Linked DNA regions of Homo sapiens: regions 2, 3, 4, 5, 6 and 7 are each linked to region 1. The links are contacts of gene promoters, found by promoter capture Hi-C in blood cells and fetal thymus (Javierre and others, 2016). All regions are on one chromosome and are shown on one strand. Each heading gives the region's core, a stretch centred on a gene start or on the middle of the fragment in contact. The rest is flanking DNA. Distances are from core to core; before and after follow the strand shown. Region 1 holds the start of OXR1 (oxidation resistance 1). Region 2 overlaps ZFPM2 (zinc finger protein, FOG family member 2). Region 3 overlaps OXR1 (oxidation resistance 1). Region 4 overlaps OXR1 (oxidation resistance 1). Region 5 overlaps ZFPM2-AS1 (ZFPM2 antisense RNA 1). Region 6 overlaps OXR1 (oxidation resistance 1). Region 7 overlaps OXR1 (oxidation resistance 1).

Region 1 (3,565 bases), core at 416-2,915:
AGATTCCACTACAGTTCTATGAAAAAATCACATGTACATTACTTAGTAGGGTTAGCAAAGTCTAACTAATTTATAATACTGGGAAAACAAAGTAGCTTTATCACAGAGTCTGAACTGAGATAATTATAAAATACATACCTAGTCTATACATTGCTTGTAGAAGATTCTCAGTAAAATCTTTCTGATAGAATAAAAATTAAACGCTATCAGTTTCAACATAACAGAAAATTTAAGCTGCGAATGCTCGTAAAGAAATTAGGTAAAAATAATGGAGAACAAAACCCGCAATCGGCTTATCAATCGGCTTACTGTTGACACGCCACGCCACTCAGAATAGTATCTAATTTTCTTGATCCCTTATCTCAGGTAAAGCTATTGACTCGGGGAAATAGGTTATGCGGAAACCATGAAAGTTTCTAGTCTGGCCGACCCTAGGTTCAACACTCTATTATTCCAGACAAGCGATGAGCTCCTGTCGCTAAATTTCAACATCCCTGTCTGTCAAATGGGAATAATAATGATTCTCTCATTGGGTGGCTGTGAGAGGTGAGTGAAACAAGACGGAAATTTGACCCAGGAAATATCTGTACCTCTTACTTTAAAGAACAGAATTAAAAAATAATAATAAATGATCAGAAATTAAGGTAGAATAGAGTGAACACTAATAGCGGGAAATAGCTAATTTGCAGGTGAGGTGGCTGAAAGGCTCCTACGCTTGAAGTGTTTGCTGGATGCACAGGAGATCTGGGATACATCCCGAACTCGGCAACAGGACCAGCTCCTTTCCTCAGGGTTACAGAACAGCCAGGTTCCAGTTCAGGTCTGGGAATCTACCCATCCAGAGTTTGCGCCCTTTTCGTTTTGCAATTTAAAACCGGGTTGGAGGGGGAAGGAGTGAAGGCAGCATGCGGAGAAAGTAAATTACAGTTCAGGTGACAGGAACAAGAAAATCTCCAAGGTCAGGGTGGGGTGTCAACGAATTATGCAAAACACTGCGGAATGAGGAGTCACAAACGCCTTGCAAAGAATTCTGAATTTTAGAAGCTCTTTGCAGAACCCCCTTCAGCCCGCTCCAAGCTGCCTTGGGTCCCTTTCTAGGCTGTCAGACTTCGCCTTCCTTTCCTCCTTGTTTTTCCCAGCAACCAAAGCATCTGAAGAACATTTTTTTCCTCCGTAAATCTGAACAAATTTCCTTGCAGCTTTCCTTGCAGAAGCTTTTTTATCGCTTTAACAAAACTTTCCTCTGCTTCTCTAGGGAGAGCCTAGTATTAGAGCTGCCCGACAGGCGGGACCCCGAAATCGGGGCAGCTCTGGCTTAGTCCAGGCTATTCGAGTGGGCGCCTGAACTGGAGGCGCCGTCTCCACCGGGATGGGGATCCTAGTGCAGGCAGACGCCTGGCAGGACTCGGCGAGCTGGGGTCCCCACCGCGGTAGCCAGAGCAGAAACCCGAACCCCAGCCAGAGGGGCCGCGCGCGGGGAGGGGTGCGCGCTAAGCCAGCGTGGCTTCCGCAGGAGCTATTTTTAGCGGTGCGTGCCTCCCCCCGCCCCCGGCGTGGTAGCCTCCGGCTCGCGGCGCCCCACGGCTCCTCTCAGTCTCCCCCGCCGCTGCCGGCTCTTGGTAGCTTCCACGCGGGCAGGTCCGGAAACTGAGCATGTCTGCAAGCGCTCAGCGGCGCCGGCAGCAGCGGGGCTAGAGCTGGGCTGCGTCAGGCTGAGCCCATTCACCTCGCGGCCACAGGAGCTCAGCGCCGGCGCCGCGCCGCCCAGCCCCGCCGAGAGGGGCGCACTCGCCGCCGCGGGGCCCGCCGCCGCTCACCGCAGCCCCCTCCTGGCGACCCGCAAGTAAGTTTGTGAGGCTGCTGGGCGTTAGGGCGAGGGCTTGGCGCCCGGGGGAGTCCAGGAGGGATAGCGAGAGGCGCGGCTGGCGCCCGGGAGAGCCGGCTGGCCTCTGCCCCCTGTGCCTGGCGCCTCTCCGAGCCACTTAGCCAATTTGAAAGCGGGTGGCCATTGGGATGCTCGAGCGGGGACGACGGGCAGAGCAGGAGGGCAGAACTAGCTCCAGCGGGGGCCCAGAGGGCGGACTTGGGAAGAAGGAAAGACCGCGCGGCGAGGGAGGAGACCGGGCGGCGAGGGAGGAGACCGGGCGGGGAGGCTGGGTTTGGGGCGCGGGAGCCCGGCCAGGGACAGCCGCAGAAGGAAAGTGGGGGTGTCGCCGGGGGATAGAGTGGGAGCAGCGTGAGAGCAGTGTTGGGGGCGCAGAGTGGAGGGCAAGCGTGTCTTGAACAGAACGGCAGGAGGATGGGTGGAAAGTGGGGCGCGTGGAAAGCGGATTTGGACGAGAGCAAAGGACGCCGGTGGAAGGGACAGTGGGCTCCGGAGGGGCGAGTGGATTCGGATAATTTGGGGAATCAGTAAAAGGCTAGGGGGCACATCATGATGGAGTCAGCCTGGAATCTGTCTCCCGCTAGAGTACCCGAGGCCACATGTTGGGAACTGGCTGGGGAAAGGATGGATGTAGAAAGTGGCCTGGAGGGCCGACTGGAAAATCGCTGAGGGATTTGGGTGAAGAGGGGGGGAGCTGTGCAGTATCGGGCGGAGGAACTGGGCTGCTGGTAGGGCCTGAAAGGTTCAGGAGAGGGTTGGAGGCTTCCCCGTGCCGCCCCTTGAATAGTGATTTAGTACTGTTATCTGAGGTTCACTTTCACCCCTGGCTCCTCCTCCGTCTACTACCCGGCTTGGACGCACCTCGGCTCGCTGTAGGCGAGCTTTAGGAGATTTAAATAGACATTAGGCAGTGGGGAAGGTAGTCGTTTACGGGGGGAGCTGCTCGGGCTTCCGTTCAGTGGTTCCCGGCACGCTCAGGGTGCAGTGTAGGGTCTGAATGTGTGTATTGCGGGGGTAGGGGGAGTGGTGTCAGTTCTAGGCCACAGGAATTCGTGGTCTGGCCCCAGAGGTGCGGTGTTTTTGGCCGGGAAGTCAGGCAGAAGTCTGCAGCGTGCAACTCGCAGCGGGGCGTGTGTGTGCGTGTGTGCGCGCGCGTGTGCATGTTTCCGGCCCGGGGTCGCGTGTGTGGCTGCAGCCTGTCTCCGTGACAAGAAGATCCAGGGATCTACGGGCGGCACGGGGAAGGGATTAAGGGGAACATACTTCCCTACGTCTTTTCTGCCTCCTTTTCCCAGGGTAGCATTCTTTGCTTATCCAATGATGCCTCTTTCTAACCTCTCCCTCTCCACTTACATCCCAAACCTGATGCGGGTCTTCTCTGATTCGGCACTCTAAGGAGGACTCAGCCGCCGGCTGCGACCACCGTGGACTCCCTCTATGGAAGGGAATCCTGGGAGTCCCGGCCGTCAGAGGGGTTCCCAAATCCAAAGGGTCCATCTCCAAGGCGTCACTCCAGGGGTCCGCGGTTCACTTTGCTGCCCCTTGCAGGTGATGCTGTGATTGTTGCCTGCGGACTGGGAAGCACGATGGCTCCAAAAGGCCAGCGGGGCCGAGAAGCAGGGACAGAGACCAGCATTTAAGGGATCTCTGGTGGGGGCCTCCCTGGAGTTCTCCACATGT
Region 2 (3,565 bases), core at 598-3,097, 470 kb before region 1:
AAATGAAGACAGTGCCCATCAGATTTCCAGCCTGTGCCCCTTCCCACAGTGCACCAAGAGCTTTTCAAATGCTCGAGCTCTAGAAATGCACCTGAATTCACACAGTGGTAAATGCCCCTTTTGTTTCTTCTGTTGCTCCAGAAGACTCTGTTATTTTTATAAATATATATGCATTACATGTATACGTCTATATCTGTCTATCTGTAGCTATCTATAACATCAAAATCAAACTTTCTGGGTCAACCAGTGTGATCTTATGCCACTTATACTCAGCATATGTTACTCAAAGGACTTGGGTCTGAATTCTTTTCTTACAAATTCAGAGGCCAAATCATTCTATTTGTTCTCAACTGAGGTTTTAAAAAAGCACATTATTTTAAAAAGAAAATCTCAATACCCTTTGAATATTGCCATTTATTGCTTTAGTGTCAAGCAATCTTTGGAAACTGATCATAGTGTTTCCTATATGGTAGGGAAGAAATAATAGGTACATAAATATAAGTGTGTGCTGAATTGAAATAAAGCTACTCTATTGATAGATCTAATTAAAATTACAGTTCAGGGATGTTTACTTTTAAATATGGATCAGTAAAATATTTCTGACTTCCAAAAGATGCATCATAACAGCTTAGGTGGTTTTTATGACATTAAACTACTTTTAGTACTATGTTTTAAAATCCCTTAAGAAAAAAATAGGCTGAAAAACAAATAAGCTTTTTAAGGCCCTCTCAATAGCAAGGTGGCAACTGTTTCTATTTAATTTGGAATTGTATGCCAGCTATTTTTAGTTTCATTTCATAGCATTCTAATTATCATATTTTTTAAAAAATGAATTTATTCAAATGTACAGAATTCTATTAACTTTAAATAATTTTAGGTACATTCTTACATGGGACAAACTAGGGACTGAGAATCATAGTTTTTCAGCACCTATAATACAAACCTTGTAGGACACCTCTGGGTGACTTTCTTAGTGGTCTTTGCCTAGATTAAATAATTTTAAAATGGAAACACATGTTGAGTTTTAAGCTACTGTTCTAACCTCCAGTGCTCTAGTACAGTTCAAGCTTTTGTCTTTGAACCTGTAAAAGTAGGTCATTTCCTTTCTGCTCATCCTCTTTCCTCTCCTTACAAATGAGCTATCTTCATATAGATAATAAAGCAGGGGAAGCAGAAACATATTGGTTGTCTCAGATGGTGAGTAAGGTCATGTACAAAACAAAAAGAACAGAATACAGGGGTCCTTTAAGCTAAATGGAAAAAAAAATGAGTATTAGATTCATTAAGGAGAAAAAGAGACAAGGATAGGTAGTCCCCTTTTATGACTACAGGACTAGGTACCTCTGCCATGTTTTCAGCTTATGAATATAAAAGGCAGTCTTATTCTAGTCCAGAGTACAGAGGGGATAAGCCAAGCCTGATTTTACCATATGCTGACCAATGGGAGCTAGAGTCAATCTTAGTGATGCTTACCCACCACAGTCAATGGTAATATTCAAAATATTTAATCATGGACTAGAAATAGGCAGTGATCAATCAGCATGGATGCCAATGCAAAATGACTATATTAGTGTACTGGTAGACTATATTAGTCTACCAGCTAAATATCAGCCCTGGATAGAGATAAACTATGTTCAGCAAAACTACTGCATAAAATTTTAAATTTATATTAATATAAATTAAGATTATATTAATTACTTTACAAAATGGTTTCTATTTGGCCTCTTTAGAATATAACCTATATGTAGTGTACTGAGAGTTATTTGATTTGCATTGTTTTCAATAGCAACCCTAATGAATGCTCACTTATTCCTAATGTAGAGGCTAATGTTATAGTGAGGTTATTAGATTAGTAATTATAAAATCCAAGGCTTAGGCATGGCTTCATCACTTAATAGCTTTATTAACATAATCAATTCCTTTAGCCTCCTTCAGCGTGTTTCCTCATCTATAAAATGGAGACACTGACACTTATTCCACTTTGATGCCATAATATTCATGAAAGTACTTTGAAAACTATAAAGTGCTATTAATATTATCATACACAGTAAGAGATGTCACAAGAAAACAGTTAATATCACGAATGAAATTTTGAAAGATTTCATTCCTATTGTGTTGCAAACATTAGGTCATTAGAAAAGGTCCCTGTCATTCAAAAACCAACACACATGTTTCTCATTGTTCTTATTTTGTATGTCTCTCTAGGAGTGAAAATGGAAGAATTCCTGCCCCCTGGTGCTAGTCTAAAATGCACCGTCTGTAGCTACACTGCTGATTCCGTGATCAACTTTCACCAACACCTGTTCTCCCATCTCACTCAAGCTGCCTTCCGATGTAATCACTGCCATTTCGGCTTCCAGACTCAGAGGGAGTTATTGCAGCACCAGGAGCTCCATGTCCCTAGCGGCAAACTTCCCAGAGAAAGTGACATGGAACACTCTCCAAGTGCAACTGAAGACAGCTTACAGCCAGCCACAGACTTATTGACCAGAAGCGAACTTCCCCAGAGCCAAAAGGCCATGCAGACTAAAGATGCGAGCTCTGACACAGAGCTGGACAAGTGTGAGAAAAAGACTCAGCTCTTTCTCACGAACCAGAGACCAGAGATACAGCCTACAACAAATAAACAAAGCTTTTCTTACACAAAAATAAAGTCTGAGCCCTCTAGCCCAAGACTTGCCTCATCTCCAGTTCAGCCTAATATTGGGCCTTCTTTCCCTGTGGGCCCTTTCCTATCTCAGTTTTCTTTCCCCCAAGATATCACCATGGTCCCTCAAGCTTCAGAGATCTTAGCTAAGATGTCTGAACTGGTGCATCGGCGACTGAGGCATGGCAGTAGTAGCTACCCTCCCGTCATTTACAGCCCTTTGATGCCCAAGGGGGCTACTTGTTTTGAGTGTAACATAACATTCAATAATTTGGATAATTATCTAGTGCACAAAAAGCATTATTGCAGCAGCCGATGGCAGCAGATGGCTAAGTCCCCAGAGTTCCCTAGTGTGTCAGAAAAGATGCCTGAAGCTTTGAGTCCCAACACTGGCCAAACCTCCATAAACCTTCTCAACCCAGCTGCTCATTCTGCTGATCCTGAGAATCCACTTCTTCAAACATCTTGCATCAATTCTTCCACTGTCTTAGATTTAATTGGGCCAAATGGGAAGGGCCATGACAAGGACTTTTCCACTCAAACTAAGAAGCTCTCCACCTCCAGTAACAATGATGACAAAATTAATGGAAAACCTGTTGATGTGAAAAATCCCAGTGTCCCCTTAGTGGATGGGGAAAGTGACCCAAATAAGACTACCTGTGAAGCTTGCAACATTACCTTCAGCCGGCACGAAACATACATGGTCCACAAACAGTATTACTGTGCTACACGCCACGACCCTCCACTGAAGAGGTCTGCTTCCAACAAAGTGCCTGCCATGCAGAGAACCATGCGCACACGCAAGCGCAGAAAGATGTATGAGATGTGCCTACCTGAGCAGGAACAAAGGCCTCCACTGGTTCAGCAGAGATTTCTTGACGTAGCCAACCTCAATAATCCTTGTACCTCCACTCAAGA
Region 3 (3,565 bases), core at 488-2,987, 390 kb after region 1:
CGCTTAAACCCAGGAGGCAAGGTTGCAGTGAGATCGCCCTACTGCACTCCAGCCTGGGCCACAGAACGAGACTCCATCTCAAAAATAAAACAAAAACAAAAATTAGCCAGGCATGGTGGCACACTCCTGGAATCCCAGCTACTCAGGAGACTGAGGCAGGAGAATTGCTTGAACCTGGGAGGTGGAAGTTGCCATGAGCCAAGATCACACCACTGCACTCCAGCCTGGGTGACAGAGTAAGATTCCATCTCAAACAAACAAACCAAAACCAAAAAAAACTTTGGTCAATGTTTCTGAGTTTACCCTTTCTATAAAGAAACCACTTACTGAACTGTTAATGTCTCTCCTTCCTTTACTCCTCTCCAAGGTGGCTGCTTTTGCTCTTACCAGCTTTTAGTGCTTGCTGGCTCCATCATTATAGCCCTCTCAGGAAAACCATAATTGAGACTTAGACATATTAAGGACATTATCACACCATTGATCTAGTTAATAACAATTACAAAGGAAACATCTTAAAATACAATGCTTGTTCCTGATTAACGGGTACATTATGCTTTGATTTTAAAAAATTGTTTTGAACTTTAAATATAGCTCTTGTTTGGGGGCATAACTATAACTCATAATGTATAATCTTTAAAAGTACTCACTTCACTAGATTATATTGTAATAAATATAGATAAATTTTACTAGTGTAGACTCTCAACTTACTGTCGTATAAACATGAAATCGTTTTTATCATAAGCGTCCTATTATATCAACCTCATTTTCCCACTTGGTGACAGGATTCTTTGAGCACAACTCAGCCCTTTTACATTTTCTTTTCATTTATTTTTAGCAATTAAAACTATCTTTCAGTTATTTAAGACTTGGTCCATTTATTTAAAAATTTCAGTCTCATATTCAATTTATATCTCCATTTACCTTTCTACCTCAGTTCCCATTCCAAGTTAGGTTGGTAGCGGAGAAGAGGTGTGGTCTAGCTCTCACAAACTCCCCTCCACCCCTTCTTGATGCATTAACTCCTCTGATGTTGGGATGTGGGAAGGAATAGAAGCAGGGGTCCACTTTTTCATTTTAGTCCTTTTTGGCCCCTTAGTGGGAGGATGACAATGGTGGATAGCAGTAGTAGCAGCAGTGATGGAACAGTTCTGCTAAAATGGCTACTCCTATGCAGAAGTGCTGACTTCAGTAGCCAACAGTTCTTTCAACTTTGAATCTGGGACATTAACATCTGGTAATACCAACCATAGACCTTAGTTGCAAATTGTTGTACTAGGCACCTAAAACTGCTCTGCCTCATAGCATATATGTTACTGGTATGTGTGTGTATATCAATAGAGTTGATGAAAAATGAAGTTAAGTGGGAATGTATTACATTTTTATGACTTGAATTATTTGACATGTCAAGGAAAAACTATTTAATAATAATATTTTTTTAAATGATTATCCCTGTTGCTGAAGTTTCATTTTAGGTTTACATTAAGCAAATCCTATGTACTGAATGTATGTAACTGAAGGAGAAGCGTTTAGAAGCCTGAGATTGATATTCTTGTTACTGGTTCACTTTTGATAATCATGGAAAATGTAAACCAAGACATGGAATAATAATTATAATAGACAAAACATATAGTGCTTGCTGTGTCTTACGCACAAGTTAACCCTCAGCAACAACCCTATGAGGTAATTAATAGTAGCATTTTCATTTTACTGGTGAGGGTACTGAGGTTCATTAATGATCCTGTCTAGTTGGGAAAATAGACATTGGACAAAGAATTTATAACTGTGTTGGTTATTGGGCATGGAATGTAAAATATATTATGGGAGTATATAAGAAGGGTTTCTAACCTAATATTGGGGGGTGTAAAATATCATGTTTTGCTTGGATTGGGGGTAATGTCTATTTCAGTAAATGGGATGATGATGATGATGATGATGATGATGATGATGATGATACTTGTAGTAATAACAGAAGTAGTAATACAGGTTGAGCATCCCAAATCAGAAAGTCCAAAATCTGAAACTTTTTGAGGGCCTACATGATGCTCAAAGGAAATGCTCTTTGGAGCATTTTGGATGTTTGGATTTGGGATGCTCAATCAGTAATGCACATATTCCAAATCCATCCTATCCTTTAGGAAGATTCAAAAAAATCCAAAACACTCCTGTTCCCAAGCATTTCAGATAAGTGGTACTCAGCCTATAGCAAGAATGATAGCTGTAATGGGGCAGGCTCTGAGCAAAAGTTTTTTATTTAATCCTAATAAAAACCTGATGACATAGTACTATTATTATCCTATTTTCCTTTTGAAAAATCTGAGCCAAAGAAAGAAGTGAGAAATTCAGAATTTATTTGGGTGTTTTCTTAGTATTTGCAAGAGTTACAGTCCTTGAGATAGGGGAAAAATGTGAGAAGAATTAAAATTCTATCATGTAAGGTATTAAAGTTAAATTAGTTAAGATTGTAAAGGATAGAATGGATTGTCATTGAAGGTTCTTTAGAGTTAGAAAGATAGTAAAATGACAGAGCTGGAAATGCAAAATCCAATGAGGGTGTGAGAAAAATTAGGTATATATTAGGTTGGAAATTGCCACCTCAGATGATGTGTTAAGAGTTAGATGATGGTTTATCTTGAACCCAGGAGGACCAAGTGCCTCTAAGGCAGGGGTCCCCAGCCCTGGTCCATGGCCTGTTAGGAACCAGGATGCACAGCGGGAGGTAAGCAGCAAGCGAGCCAGCATTACTGCCTGAGCTCTGCCTCCTGTTAGATCAGTGGGGACATTAGATTCTCATAGGAGTGTGAACTTTATTGTGAACTGCACATGCAAGGTCTAATCCCTGATGATCTGAGGTGGAACAGTTTCATTGAGAAGCCATCTCTCTCCCCATCCCCCACCCCTTGCCCACATGTCCATAATCCATAGTCTTCCATGAAGCCTGTCTCTGGTGCCGTAAAGGTTGGGGACCACTGCTTTAAGAGACCTGGAGTGTACCAGTTGTTACAGTAACTTTTTAAAACAACCACCACCACCACAAAACAAAAAACTCACAGTGTTGGTAGAAGATAACCCTAGCTGGCCCCAGTTTTAGTCTCTTTTCCTAAAGCCGGATGGGAGGAAGAGAATACTCTCTACTTGATCGGCAACCTCAGTGGGCTCTAGTGGTAACTCCCAACTAGTTAGCCTTTCTTAATAGTGTATCATTTAGTTCAGTGGTTCTCAGGCATGAGGTTGATTTGCCTGTTTTAGAATTGCTGCTTGTCTCACAGGATAGCTGATAGGAAGTTCTGTATTATCTATGTTGTAGAACAAAACTGCCTCTAAAATAAGCTGATGATTCTCAAACTTCAGCATGCAACAGAATCATCTCCTGAAGGGCTTGTTAGAAAAATATTGTTGAATACCTCTCCTAGAATTTGTGATTCTGTGTGGCTGAGAATTTGCATTTCTAACAAGTTCTTAAGTAATGCTGATGCTGCTGGTCTGGCAACCACACTTTTCTTAGTGGGTAAGTCTTTTATCCATGGGAAGGTTAGAAGTAAATATAGAAATGATGAAATTTATTAAA
Region 4 (3,565 bases), core at 616-3,115, 380 kb after region 1:
CTTGAGAGGTACACTTGACCTCTCTCGGCCTTGATGACCCAATCCATAAAAATGAAAGGCTTGACTAGATAAACACCAAGGCCCCGCTCATGTCTTATGGTTAAGGTTGCGATTAGTATGTTAAGGGCATTGTGTGAAAGACAATTGAGATGTATTCTTTGTAGCTCTTAAAGTAATTATTTTCAACCATTTTCTAGTGTACTTTTATGGGAGAACAGTATGTAAAACATAAAAATGGCATTTTATGAGCCTACATGTGTTTTACAAGTTCAAATTTACATTTTGATTATAAAGATATTTATTGAGAGAATAAGGCTGATAGGAAACCAAATTTTTAAACTGGGAGGATAAATGATCGACAGATTCTTTTTAGCTTCAGCAACTCCGCATTCTCCCCATTTTGCTTTTGTTGTTTGTTGGTTTTCCTCTGGTTGTATTAAGAAAATACTTATTCACATACACAAAAGGTAAATGAATAGTTTCGCAATCTCAGAATACTTTTCAGAATATAGACATGGCAAGAGACAATTGAAAAGCAAAATCATTAACAAATCAGGTGATCTTTAGCATATTAATATATCATTAAAAATGTAACTTAATCATTTGCAAAATCTATCAGTCAAAATAAGCTAAGCTTATTCTGTGATGCCAAATGAACCCCTAAACCTAAGTGACTTGCTGAAATAGGTGTATATTTCTTGATGTATTTCTTGTTCCTCTTACATATCCAATTTTGGGTTGTATTGGGAGCAGGGGCTCTGATCCATATAGTTACATAGGGATCCAGACTGATGGAGGCTCCACCATCTTGTAGCTGTACCGTCCTGTGCACATCATATCCTTAGCTGCTGAGGCAGGGGCTGAGGCACCTGGAGCGTAAAACACTGGCAGTTTTAAACAGCGCCTGTTCTTTGCACACGTATGTGAAACACATACATCACTGCTCGGTGGTTGCCAGATCTAGTCTCATGGACCTTTTTCGGAAGTCATTGTGTGACTCATATGAACTAAATATGCAAAAACCATTTGGAAGAACTAAAGTAGCAGGCCGCAAACGTGGCTTATAATTTAAAAATTGAGGTTCCTGAGTTCCCCACCCTACAGCCATGGAACCAGAATCTCTGCGTATAGTTGGAGAATTTTAATTTTTTAAAAAGTTCCACAGCTGATTCTCATTATCAACAGGCAGCTGCTGCTGTGAACAAGGAGTGTTTTTAAAGCGGAGAAAAGGCAATACTTAGATTGGCGGATTTAAGATTACCCTGGCTGCAGTGTTGGAGATCGATTAAAGAGGGGGTAAAGTAGAAGCTGGGAGATTTCATTTTACTACATAATGTATAGGCTCTAATGAGCAAACACAAATGCATGTGCTTACATATCATGCAGTGTGTTAGCAGAACTAGCTCAATCTGAGGGCCTAACAATGTTGTTGATGTCTCTGTATATTTAAGAATCTTATCCCCAACCCTTCCTTCCGGACTCCTAGAAAACCAGTAGGGTAGGTACAAATTGGCTGCCAACCAGTCCTTGTTCAATGCATTTGATAAATTCTACTGGTGGTGGTGGCTGTATAGCCAGCTTGGCACCCATATGAGTCTGTGGATAGTAGGTGGGGCTGAGGTGCCTAGGCATGCCCTGCTTCTCTCTTGAGAGGCAATTAGAAATGATCCAACTTTCCTTCAAGCCTGTTAGGGCAGCATAGATTTGAGTTTTGAATCTGGTTATATTGCTGTGTCTACTGTTCTCTAGGAAGACTTGAGAATTTAGAGTAGATCTGCAACAGAAGAAAATGACCAGTGCATGATTCTGCTTGAAAACTAAACCTGTCTAGTCAGTGCTGGATCATTTAAAGATTGACCATCTAGGTTTGAATTTCTCTTCCTATATGCTGACTGCCTTTGGGCTGATTCACCTGGGGATATTAGCATCTTTCCCAGATTGTGTTTGGTATGGGGAGGTGGGGAGTTAGGGAACTCCCATCTACTTTGGGAAGAGGAATAAGTTCTATTCCTTTCAAACATTATGTACAGCACTTAGGAGTTTGCTGTTCATGCATCATGGCTGAAACATTTGGACAATTGATAAAAATTTGTCATTGCTGCCCAGCACTTTCTCTGAGATGGATGAACTTATAGGTAGGCTCTCTTTTTATTGTACTTCATTTCATCTTGTATTGACACAGCCCCAGTTATAGACTTTCCCCCAACAGAAGGAACAACAACAACAAAAAACTACCTAACTACTGGTTACAGGTTAAAGCTGGAAATGTGCTGGCAACAGATTTAGGTTTTTCCAATATTATTTTGCCTGTTCATCTTCTTTTTTCTCTATTATCTTTTTTTTTTCTTTTTTTGAGACAGAGTCTCACTCTGTTGCCCAGGCTAGAGTGCAGTGGCGTGATCTCGGCTCACTGCAACCTCCGCCCCCCAAGTTCAAACGATTCTCCTGCCTCAGTTTCCCAAGTAGCTGGGATTACAGGTGCACACCACCAAGCCTGACTAATTTTTGTAATTTTTAGTAGAGATTGGTTTTCGCTATGTTGGCCAGGCTGGTCTCAAACTCCTGACCTCAGGGTGATCTGCTCACCTCAGATTCCCAAAGTGCTGGAATTACAGGCATGAGCCACCGCGCTTGGCCCTATTATCTTTAATAAAAACAAAGATAGGGAAATTATCCAAAAAATTAGCTAAAAGCTATATAACTTTAAAATATGTGAAATTAATAATTTCAATAAAGTACTTAATATACCACAAAACAAATGTTTTCACTTATCAGCTTTTCAGATTAAGTATCAAAATTCTATTCAAGTAACATGAGAAGGTACAGCAATATGTGAAGACCCATTATAGAATTAAGAGAGGAGAAGAGGAAGAACAAGGGTAAAGAAGGGCCCAGAAAGATAAAAAGACAGAGGGTAAGACCTCCTTATAGCTATGCATACAGTACCTTCTGTAGACACACACTCTCTACTGCAACCTCAAAGAAAGTGCAGGCAGGAAAAGAAATCTGCAGAAGAAAGAAAATGAGAATGTTTGTCTTCATGATGTAACATTATTCTTTGGGTGTCCTGATGAGCTATTGTTCCTCAAGGTTTTTAAAGCTTTATTGAGTTTTCAGAACTTTAAGCACCATTGGTAATACCAATTGGCACTTGTCCAATGAGCTGAGTGAAACTGATCCAAAAGCTCCAGAAGCTGCCACATTCCAGGTATGGAGTATTTGGGGGCTGTAATTATACCATTGTAATTACTGTCTTTAATAGGATTAAAAATAGAACTGGAATAATTCTATGGTAAGTTGATGTCACTTATTGTGACCCAAGTTTCAATTATAATTGTTAACGATGCTATTGCTGAGTCCTTGTTTGGCTTGACTGCCATGCAGTGTTTTTCTGATGAGTGAAGGAGTTAACACCTTTTGGACAATTTTCAGAATTGAAAGAAAATTACTTGGTTTTTAGTAGGGTTTGTAATTATTATATCCAAGGTTGGTATCTTCTAGAGGGGAACTTTTTAGAAAATTAATATTAGACTCTCTCCCAGTCTATTGAAAGGCCGTATTAAAT
Region 5 (3,565 bases), core at 461-2,960, 360 kb before region 1:
GACTCACAGTTCCACAGGCTGTACAGGAAGCATGGCTGAGAGGCCTTAGGAAACATACAATCATGGCAGAAGGTGAGAAGGAAGCAAGCACATCTTACCATGGCAAAGAAGGACAGACAGAGAGAAGCAGGAGGTGCCACACACATTTAAATGATCAGATCTTGTGAGATATCACTCTATCATGAGAACAGCAAGGACGAAATTTTCCCCCATAATGGAATCATATCTCACCAGGCCTCTTCTTCAACACACGACAATTACAATTTGAGATGAGATTTGGGTGGGGACCTAGAGCCAAACCATATCATAGTCCTAGGTACTTGGGAGGCTGAGAAAGGAGGAGCCTAGCTACTCGGGTGGCTGAAGAAGGAGGATCACTTGAGCCCAGGAGTTCAAGGTTGCAGTGAGCCCTGTACTCCAGCCTGGGTGACAGGGCAAGACACTGTCTTAAAGAAAAAAAGAAAAACAAAAGTAATTATAAAGTAAAACTCTGTGTTCCCCCAGAGAAGTTACAAAACAAATTTTTAACAGGATCTTAGAAATACCCTGTGAGCCCTTTCACTGAAATCTTGTCTCTCCCTTCTTAGGTAACTCCTGCTACCCTATGCACCGACTATTTCTTATCCCTAAACAATGTATTATTGACTTTCAAAATCAGTATCAGCAACAACCTAGCTTTGTAAGGAAAGAGCAATCTTGGCACTGTAAATGAAGACTCCCAGGGGAAGAGAGGCAGAAAAGTACCTGGTCTTGCTTCATCTCACCTGAGGTCTGTAAGAGCCCCTTCTGAGAAGGGACCCGAGTGAATTCTGGGAAGTGTAGGACTCACTAGAGCTCAGGCATGTGGCAGAATTACATACAGGTCAGGAAGTAGCTGTGCAATCGAAATGTATTCAAGGTGTGAGCTGCTCAGTTTTTGCTGCTACATTTTTACCATGTTGTATCACTCATTGTCAAGAGGAGGCCAGAACAGAAGACAACTGTGCAGCAAAATGAGTGTCTTCATGTAGCAAAGTATAGAGGACCAAGAACAGCTTCTTCAGCGGATGGCCAAGACATGCCAAGTACGGATAAGACTCTGAGCCAGGTAATGTGAGCCCTTCTCTCTCCTCTTGCAGATACTGCTTTCAAGTTAAACCTAAAGGAATTGGCATGGAGATCTTTGAAAAACAACCTTGGACATGTTGAGTTGCATGACCCCTTAGTCCCTTGCTGTCATTTCTTGCTTCTTCCTGAAGACAAGACTGTTAATGGCATGCTAGATAAATCCTAGACATGTACCCAGGAAAAAATAAAAAACAAAGGAAATGCTACCTCATCAAAGAAAACCACTTGGGTGAAGGCCTGTGTTAAAAGGCCCCGGTGGGGACAGCAGCATACCAAGATCATGGGAGGCATAGGAATGCCAGGCCAGGTGCCAGAGTGGTACCTTGCACCAACCACCCCCTTTTGCTGTTGACTCTGCTTGTTTTCTCTGTAGCTAAATAAATGAAAGCAGAATATAAGTGATCGCTTTAGTTTTTCCCTCTTCTCAATAATAACAAAATCCTATTTTCTAAATGGAAGTGCATCACAAGCTTTCGCAGAGAAGGGAGTAGCCAAAGGAAATTTCAGACAGTTGGAAAATAAACTCTTGCCCTACAGTGCCTGGAGTTTTAGCAAAGGCAGAATCATCCCTCTTTGTTTCCTCCTTGTTGTCCTTTAATCCATGATAACACTCCCAATCCAAGGTGAGAGATGTAAACGCAGAGCCAGAGCACGCTCTTGGAGAATTAGTTCTGTTCATATGGAGAAATCTGAAAGGCATCATTCTTTTCTAGCAGCAGAGCCAGCGTGACAAGGAAAAGCTTGGCTGCTGCATTTGGAATGTGTGTCTAAAGCTTGTTTTCCATTCAGTGCCACAATTGCAAGGGGCCAAAAAGTGTTTCAGCAAGGTAAATGCATGCTCTGGACCTTGGAAAAGGCTTCTGAACTCATCCCAGGTGAAAACAGAAGCAAAATGAGGAAGGATTTTTTTTTGTTTGTTTTTAAGTGGTTTGAAGCCGTTTATTCTTCACCTAACATAAGGAAAGTAAATTAATTATACCAGTATTAATTGGAGGGTGTTAGTTTCCTATAGAATTTGCAAAATCTATATTATGGAACTGGTGAAAGATGCTAAAAGTTAGGTGAGAAGGGATTTTTGTGGTTAATTGCACTCACCAAACGAGGGTAAAATAAGTTAATCACTAACTTTCTATTAATCATGATACTAAAATTACTAGACATTCTAATCTTCATCTATGGTAGTTAATGGATTATTTACTGTATGTCTGTGGACAAATGTGAAAGTAGTTCATACTCCGTTTTCTCATTAAATATCAAAATTATTATTTATTTGGATACTGTATCTTTATTTCCAGAGGGAAATATGCATTTTAAACCACAAGAGGGCAGTAGCATTACATTTTGAATTAAATGCCTCTTCTGAAGCTCAATATTGGGTCTAAAACTATAATTACAGTGTAACAATTACATGTCTTTTTCTGAATAGTTCTTATTAATTCTGTTGGTGTTTTATGAGTAAAGTTTTATAGTAAGTTCCTGTGACTGTGGTTTGTTAGAAATGAGACTACTTTCAAAGAAAACTGCAAGAAGATAATTTTAATGAGTGAATTAAAGTGCCTCCTGAGGATGATTTTCTCAAAAGTTGTTTAAACTTTACTTTAAATATCACATTATTAAAATTATACAAGTGATTTTTTCAATTATATTAACAGCTAGTATAGAAAATAAGTATAATTAGCAATGGATAAAACTTCATGGTTTAGATGTATGCATTTTAAAAACTAGACGTTATTTAAAGAAGAAACTTATGATGAGCAACCCAAATTTAATGTAAAAAATAATTAAATATTTTTCCTCTGCTGAATCTACATTTTTCCATATTCAGGATGTAAAAAATTTCAGTTGTTTTATTTAGCCACCAGGTGGTGCTGCCTATTTAAACAATGAAGTAGAGAAAAATGATCTAAGAATACATGTTCAAAGCATATTTATATATTCACCAGATTTTTTGAATGTATAAATTGAGTTTAATTTCTGTGAGGCAGGCCTTTCAAAAAATACATTAGAAAGTCCAGGGGAGGAAAATGCACTCTCTGGAACAGCTACTTTACAGAACTACATGAAATTCATGAAATTTATCTAATGGTGAAATTTAAACATAGGTAGTAACCTTTTCACAAAAGAATAAAATGGCCTAGTCTAATAAAATCTCAGTGCATGAGAGCTACTTATTTTTATCCATGAAATTGTTTCTTTTGTTTTGCAGGCAATGAAAAACAATTGCATTTCATTACTTTTCACATTGATTAAAGGTAAAAGAAAATTTTTCCCTATTCAACAAAACATGGATAAATCAAATAAATTGCATTTAATCTGTGTTATCTGTAGATGCTGAAGTAATTATATGTGTGGAAAAGTCAAACGTCATCCATATTCATTCATTCACCAAAAATAGGTTCATTTACATTTAGGTGGGGATAAATAACATGACTATAGATTTTCTGCTATAGCATGAATG
Region 6 (3,565 bases), core at 309-2,808, 360 kb after region 1:
TTTAAGTAATTCTCTCTGAAACATGTATTTGAGGAGAGCAGGACAGCTTAGGCCTGGTGAGATATGTTGACAATCTGAACTAGGGTAATGATAGTTTAGGTCTCCTCGCTTAGCCATCTTAGTCACTAAGGTGTGTCTGCATTGTATAATCAATAATGTTTCCCAATCTTGTTGAAATGACCTCACATGTGATAGCACTTAAAAATTCAAAGAAGTGAGCTATAGTTACTTTTCTTCTATTTTTCATATATTTACTTTATTGTAAACGTATATTAGATTATATATGTCTTTTTAGGAATTTCAGTTATATTTAATACATATTTTTTTCTCTATATGCTTAAAATTGCTTTTAATTTTATATCTTTTCAAATACTAATGTATAATTTTTAGAATTAAAAAATATTTTCTATCAAGAAGTACTATTGTGCTCTGTTCTGCGTTTTGTGTGTGTGTGTGTGTGTGTGTGTCTTATAGCATAAGTTCTTACAAGAAAAAAGACAATTTTCTTAAGTTGAAAAAACAATCTAGATACATTAAAAATATTCCAGTGTTGAAGCTATCAAGCCTACTTTTTAGAGGCAAAAGATAGCTAATCCTGTTTTTCCTTGTAAAAAAAATTTTTAAAAAGATATTATATAGAAGTATATTATTTACTGACTCAACTATTAACTAAAAAGCCGTTTCACCCTATGCAGATGATAAGATGAAGGTTATCTTTAAAATTCATTTTCTAAAAAAAAAAAGTCTTTCCTGTTTCTTGCTTATTGTTTTTATAATTTTAGTTGTATTTCTACACATGTCATTCTCTGTATGGCATGGCCTTGATTGAAGTTTGGTGTCTTTTCCCTTTTCATTCAGTCCTTTTCATATTTTTACATTAATGTAATTATTTTTGCTTTGGTTTTCTGGTTTATTAACACCTTCTCTGTCTGAATTATTAAATCCATGTTGTAAATTTTTTTTTACCTTAAAAGTAGCTCATTTTCTTAGGTTTTTTTTTTTTTTAACACTTACACATTTATTAAGCTTGAGGTATGTGTTTAATAATATCTTTAAAAAAATTATTTCACTTTTCTGCCAAGTCTCAAAGCTGCTTTCCTGATTTAACATTGTAGATCCCTGTAATAATTTTTTACAAATCACTATTACCAGATCTTAAACTTGAGGAAAAAATTTTGTGGTTATTATTCACTAGCGTTGTGATAAATATTTCAAATTAATTTTTAAATATATATTATAATTATCATATTTTAAATGCATCATGATTTTAATGTGCTCAATAACTTTTGTAAAGCACTAGGATATATTTTTTCTTATATTATTTAAAATATTCGAGTCCTGAAAAATATGAAATGCTTGGATACATTTCCTCTATTATGTTTCGATGCTTTTCTCCGTAGTTAACCTCTCGTGTCTACAACAACCTGTATCTCAAAGTACATGCACATGTTATGCAAACAACTAAAACCAAGGCAAAAAAAAGTACATTCTATTAAGCAAAATTGGATTGGAAGCACATCCGTAAAGGGAAGAATTCAGGATAGAATAGTGATATTTCAAAAGAAAACTTGGTTTCTCACAGATTCCTCATGGTATATATTCAGATGTTGTTACATAAGAGAACATTCCTTCCAAATTATTTAGTTTCTGGTGTTTTGAGAGAAGAGTAGCCTTCGACATGTCTTAAACTTCCCTTGCATTCATTACTTTTTAAATGTATGCATTTTAATATGGAGACTCTCCCACAAAAATAGTGGAAAAGGACTGGTGTTTTACAGTGGAAATACTAAATGCTGTTGAGATAAGGAAAATCAACTTTTTGAAAGAAAAAAAGATGAAATGATAGCCATCTGATGGTTAAAAAGTGGTAACGTGAGATATTCTATATTTGTGTTTTACATCAATTCTATTATGTCTGATTTACCCTTGAATCAATGTAGTGGCTTAATGATGATGACATCATCAACATATGAAGATGACAAAAAAAATTAAGCTACCGAACTACCCAAATGTTTTTAGGGAATCTTTCTACTTCTTCCCCGCAGCCAAGAAGCAATTATACTGACATTTAGTTCTTTCATTTCCAGCAGGAAGCTTACCTACTCTTTTTTCGGAGATGATTAAAACCTCATGCCACTTAGCAATAAAGAGACCACCATTACTGGTGGGATTCATAGTGGAAAGCATTAAGCATTTTGGCAGTGAGTCCTAAAGCCTTTACCATAGCAGGATTGATATAGGAATAAGTGGAGATTGAGGGCACAGGGGATCCACCAGCTATCCCTTCTGCAGGTCTGTATGATTGCACTTAGCAGATTTCCCATGCTTACTATTACACAGAGAGATTTACTACATAGAATTCCTAACTGGACTCCTACCTTTCAGGTTTCTCCCTGCCTTTCCAATCCATTATCCACACTGCCATCTTAACAGTATTTCTAAAACGTAAAATTCATTGGTTCTCTCCTTTAAAAATCTTTGGAGATTTCCTATTGCCTTCTTCATGTGGTCCAAACTCCTTATTATGGCACATGTGGGTCTTTCAGGGTTTCTAACCTATATTCCTAGAACCTCCTGTTTTCTGTGTCCTTTTCCCAAAGAGCTGACATTAGGAATGCCTGTCCATTGGATTGTTGCAAGGGTTCGATGATAAAATATATAGAAATATTTCATAATAGCTAGCATTTATTGACCCTTTATCATCTTACCAGGTGCCAAAGACTGGGCAGGGAATTTATACATATTCTCTCATTTAATCTTCATACAACCCCAAGAGATGTAAATGCTTTTATAAACTCCATTTTATAAATGAAGAAACAGATTTTGAGAGGTCAGGCAACTTTCCCAAGGTCACACCTATAGATAGAAATGGAGTTGAATTTTATCTCTCCAACTCCAAAATTGATGCTTTTATAGATTTTACTGTTGCTTGGCACATTTCCTAGTGTACAATTCCATTTGATTAAATATTCATTTTTTAAAAACCATTACTATAAAACTTACAGTATCTAAAAAATATTTTGGTTTGCTTTCCTTGCCCTCCAAGGTTAGCTGATACCTCACTTCTTGGACTCTTTCTAGATGTCCCATCCCCTCTCTGCTATCCTCTTCCATCTTCACACGCATCATACTTCAAGTGTAATGGTTGACCTGTATATCTAATGCCTCTGATCTGTTGGCACTTCACGTATGCAGCACTGTGTCTCCATTGTCTTCGTACCCTCAGGGATTAGCATCTTGATGTTCAGCATTCAATATCTGTTGAACAACTGAAGGAATAAAACAGACTCCAAGGATAATTTTAAAGTATGTGGGCTCTCTCTTTTCTCACAACTGCTGCATTTCTGCTTCCATTTAATGTTTAACTGCACTAACACTTCAACTAACACTCAGCTAGATTATGAAAGAGCAAAGACAGACTTCAGAGCGTAACAGAGTAAGAGAGAATGAAGAAAAGACAAAATCACCCTCTTTTACTTCATTCCTCTCCCCCACCCTCCAAACTTGAGAGATTGTCTTGCCAGATGAGGAAGAGACAAAGTTGAAGGAGAGAAAAGGTGTGCTT
Region 7 (3,565 bases), core at 552-3,051, 330 kb after region 1:
AAGCATCTTTGCCATTTTAAAGGTAAAAAAACTCACTTCTCTATTAATGTTTCATAGCCTGTATATCTTGAAGGTATGCTTCAGTGTTTTGTACTATTTCTTCTTGCCTGGCCTAACATCTCTCACTGTATTTGACATGCGTATGACTGGAGTCAGGTCCTGTTGTTAGTAAGAATGATGCCATTAAGTCACACATCCTCTGTGATAACATGGGTATTACCTCTGACATTTCTTGAGATTGTATCTAGAATCAGAAAGCCTTGATGCTGTCCTTATATACAAATCAGCTTTTTTCTAAAAACATACAGTGTATAGTTATTTTTACACCTTGCCTATATAAAATAAAAAGCAAAAAAAAAGTCAGTAACATTTTTCATCTGGCTTTTCTGTATTTTTTAAATGGTATATGGTAGATAATACTACCATCTTTTTCAGCTAAAACTGTCAAGTAAAACCTCCACAACGTATTTCAAGAATCAGTTATGAGAGGTGTATTAAGTGAATGAGAGTGTGTATTATTTAATAATAGCTCCCTTTGGGTGATGGGTTTATGATGGGTGATTGTTATTTTGTTTTTGTTGCTTTTCTATATTGCCAAAACTTTTAATATGGAACGTGTAATTCTCCCTTAAAAAGAAAGGTTTGAATAGAGCTTTAAATTTTAATAAAGAGTACTTTAAGATGTCTTAGAAAGCAAGTCTGTAAAATTGCTTTAAAAATCAAGAACAGGGCCGGGCACAGTGGCTCACACCTATAATCCCAGTAATTTGGGAGGCTGAGGCGGGTGGATCACTTGAGGTCAGCAGTTCAAGACCAGCCTAGCCAACATGGTGAAACCCCCTCTCTACTAAAAATATAAAAATTAGCTGGGCGTGGTGGTGCATGCCTGTAGTCCCAGCTACTCGGGAGGCTGAGGCAGGAGACTCGCTTAAACCCAGGAGGCGGTTGTTGCAGTGAGCCGAGATAGTGCCACTGCACTCCAGCCTGGGCAACAGAGTGAGACTCCATCTCAAAAAACAAACAAACAAACAAACAAAAAACAGAAGAAACCTGAACACTTGCAGGGATTAAATGGGAAAACTTTTTAAAAAGCAGGTGTATACCGTCTATTAACTGTGTGCCATAGCACTTGGCCACAAACCAAGTATACTTTTGAAACCCCTAACTAATCTTTAAATATATTTTCAAACACCTTTTAAAAATGTGTCAGGGGCAAAAATGTCAAAAGCATTATGACTCCTATGGGTGAAGGGATAAGCCACGATGCTTGAAGTCAGGGGTCTTGGCTTTCACAGGGAAAGACAGGATTTCACCATGTTGTCCAAGCTGGTCTCAAACTCCTGACCTCAAGTAATCCACCCGCCTCGGCCTCCCAAAGTGCTGGGATTACAAGTGTGAGCCACCCGTATACAGTATTATTGATATCCTCCAAACCAGATAGGATATTTAGCTTTTTGTAAAATTCTATAGGTATTAAAGCTTGCAGCATTAAAAAGCACTGCTTTTGAACTCTGACAGATGCAGACAATATATCCAGTAACAAAACTGAGTTTCTTTACTAACATATTTTGATAGCGTGACCTTAAACTTGAGACAAAAAGGAGAGAGGAAGAGTTTTATTGAATAAACGTTTCTAGGAAACAGATGCTTAACAAATGGTTGTACAGCTGTTTGCAATAACATGGAAGAAGCCTATCTTTCGATAATTGTGACATAAGTTTTTCTTGTTTGTTCTCCTAGAGTTGTCTGCAAAAAGTTTATGTAATATGCCTGAAGGTTATACTAAGAAGGAAGCATTTCAGAAATGATTGAAGCTGTTTATCTGTGTGCAAAAGCCTGTAAGTGTGTTTGTGTGGGCCTGGGCACGTGTATATGCCTGTGATTCACACATTTCTTTTCACAAAAGATTTGAGGTCACTCAGGATGTCATTCATCCTGGGTAAAAGCCACCTCAGATTACAAGCAGTTAATAGGTCAGATGCTACATAATGCTCTCTTCAACTTAGATTTCTTAAAATCTTACAAGTTGAAGGAGGTGAGAGCCTGGGACTTTTAATTTGCACTGGGGCAAAATCGTTCCTTTGTGCTGAAAACATGTGGCTGACAAGATGCCACTGGGAAAGCCAAGCTTTTTTAGAAGAGTTTGCTGTATAATTCATAAAGATAAAATCTGTAATATTTTATACTTGAAAGCTAAAATTTTTTAAAAAGACATTATCCAAATCAAAACTCTAGCAATTAAAACACACAGATAGGGTATGGTTGACTTTCTGCAATGCTAATCTGGTTTCTGTCTTAGGTCTATTTGTACAGGACAGATATTCTACTTTATTCTCCAACAAGACTCAGCCTGGAGTTGCCTGGTGACCTGCTTTAATTGAGCCAACCACATTCTGTAGGGGAAAAGCCAGACCAGAAATAGCTAGGATTTAATGGTGAGAACAAAGGCATTCCTAAAATCCTCAAATCTGGGCCTAGCATGGTGGCTCACACCTGTAATTCCAGCACTTTTGGAGGCTGAGGCAGGTGGATCACCTGAGGTCGGGAGTTCCAGACTAGCTTGACCAATATGGTGAAACCCCGTCTCTACTAAAAAAAAAAAAAAAAAAAATTAGGCGGGCATGGTGGGCGCCTGTAATCCCAGCTACTCAGGAGGCTGAGGTGGGAGAATCACATGAACCCGGGAGGTGGAGGTTGCAGTGAGCCGAGATGGTGCCACTGCACTTCAGCCTGGGTGACAGAGGGAGACCCTGTCTCCAAAAAAAGAAAAAGAAAAAATAAAATAAAGGAAACACAAAAAACACCTCAAATCTGATATCTCCCACTTCCTACTTAGGTTGAAACAACATATGACTTCTCTAAGTCTCTATTTTTATTTTCAATAAAATGTGGATGATAATAATAAAATGTGGATGATAATCCCACCTCACTATGGGATGCAAAGTGTTTACCAGATGTATTATGTTTCCTATTGCAGTTGTGACAAGTCATGCAAAAGTTAGTGGCTTAAAACAAATTTATTATATTAAGTCCCAGCATTCTGAAGTCCAAAATGCATCTCACTGGGGCTAAAGTCGAGGTGTCAGTAGGTCTGTGCTCCTTTCTAGAGGCCCTGTGGGAGAATCCATTTTCTTGCCTTTTCTAGCTTCTAGAGGCCCCCTACTTTCCCTGGCTCTTGGCCACCTACCATCGTCAAAGCCAGCAATGTCCCAGCAAGTCTTCCTTAGAGCATATCACTATGATACTCTTTATTTATTTATTTATTTATTTATTTATTGAGACAGAGTCCCACTCTGTTGCCCAGGCTGGAGTGCAGTGGTGTAATCTCGGATCACTGCAACCACCACCTCCCAAGTCCAAGTGATTTTCCTTCCTCAGCCTCATTAGTAGCTGAGATTACAGGCATGTGCCATCATGCCTGGCTAATTTTTTTTTTTTTTTTGTATTTTTACTAGAAACAGGGTTTCACCATTTTGGTCAGGCTGGTACCAAACTCCTGATCTCAAATGATCCGCCCGCTTCAGCCTCTCAAAGTGCTAGGATTATAGGCATGAGCCACTGCACC

What was found. The method cuts DNA at HindIII sites, captures the fragments that hold promoters and counts their contacts. A CHiCAGO score of 5 or more calls a contact.
Region 2: a fragment that was not itself captured here is called in contact with the fragment with the promoter of OXR1 in region 1 in 1 of 17 cell types (fetal thymus); the score reaches 5.1 in fetal thymus.
Region 3: a contact is called between a fragment that was not itself captured here and the fragment with the promoter of OXR1 in region 1, in 1 of 17 cell types (fetal thymus). The highest score is 6.4, in fetal thymus.
Region 4: a fragment that was not itself captured here is called in contact with the fragment with the promoter of OXR1 in region 1 in 1 of 17 cell types (naive CD4 T cells); the score reaches 5.1 in naive CD4 T cells.
Region 5: a fragment that was not itself captured here is called in contact with the fragment with the promoter of OXR1 in region 1 in 1 of 17 cell types (megakaryocytes); the score reaches 5.3 in megakaryocytes.
Region 6: a contact is called between a fragment that was not itself captured here and the fragment with the promoter of OXR1 in region 1, in 1 of 17 cell types (fetal thymus). The highest score is 5.6, in fetal thymus.
Region 7: a contact is called between a fragment that was not itself captured here and the fragment with the promoter of OXR1 in region 1, in 1 of 17 cell types (fetal thymus). The highest score is 5.9, in fetal thymus.

The regions. Positions count from the first base shown.
Region 1 is chr8:106,268,525-106,272,089 of GRCh38, forward strand. It overlaps OXR1 (oxidation resistance 1), which reads left to right and starts at 1,666. Exons shown (of 17, transcript NM_001198533.2): 1 at 1,666-1,843. RefSeq lists silencers at 1,391-1,640, 1,661-2,020. The HindIII fragment of the contact is 2,469 bases long and covers 1,213-3,565 here.
Region 2 is chr8:105,798,842-105,802,406 of GRCh38, forward strand. ZFPM2 (zinc finger protein, FOG family member 2) reads left to right here. Exons shown (of 8, transcript NM_012082.4): 7 at 1-107; 8 at 2,206-3,565. The region is part of intron 2 of ZFPM2-AS1 (ZFPM2 antisense RNA 1); the gene reads right to left. Among named protein-coding and RNA genes, the nearest start is that of ZFPM2-AS1, 260 kb to the right of the region's middle. RefSeq lists an enhancer at 3,376-3,565. The HindIII fragment of the contact is 1,565 bases long and covers 1,066-2,630 here.
Region 3 is chr8:106,660,927-106,664,491 of GRCh38, forward strand. The region is part of intron 3 of OXR1 (oxidation resistance 1); the gene reads left to right. Among named protein-coding and RNA genes, the nearest start is that of OXR1-AS1, 5.0 kb to the left of the region's middle. RefSeq lists enhancers at 1-461, 2,933-3,433. The HindIII fragment of the contact is 6,673 bases long and covers 1-3,565 here.
Region 4 is chr8:106,643,771-106,647,335 of GRCh38, forward strand. The region is part of intron 3 of OXR1 (oxidation resistance 1); the gene reads left to right. All of the region lies in intron 1 of OXR1-AS1 (OXR1 antisense RNA 1), which reads right to left. Among named protein-coding and RNA genes, the nearest start is that of OXR1-AS1, 12 kb to the right of the region's middle. The HindIII fragment of the contact is 2,466 bases long and covers 633-3,098 here.
Region 5 is chr8:105,903,635-105,907,199 of GRCh38, forward strand. All of the region lies in intron 2 of ZFPM2-AS1 (ZFPM2 antisense RNA 1), which reads right to left. Among named protein-coding and RNA genes, the nearest start is that of ZFPM2-AS1, 160 kb to the right of the region's middle. The HindIII fragment of the contact is 270 bases long and covers 1,576-1,845 here.
Region 6 is chr8:106,625,603-106,629,167 of GRCh38, forward strand. The region is part of intron 3 of OXR1 (oxidation resistance 1); the gene reads left to right. The region is part of intron 1 of OXR1-AS1 (OXR1 antisense RNA 1); the gene reads right to left. Among named protein-coding and RNA genes, the nearest start is that of OXR1-AS1, 30 kb to the right of the region's middle. The HindIII fragment of the contact is 1,068 bases long and covers 1,025-2,092 here.
Region 7 is chr8:106,603,042-106,606,606 of GRCh38, forward strand. All of the region lies in intron 3 of OXR1 (oxidation resistance 1), which reads left to right. All of the region lies in intron 1 of OXR1-AS1 (OXR1 antisense RNA 1), which reads right to left. Among named protein-coding and RNA genes, the nearest start is that of OXR1-AS1, 53 kb to the right of the region's middle. The HindIII fragment of the contact is 649 bases long and covers 1,478-2,126 here.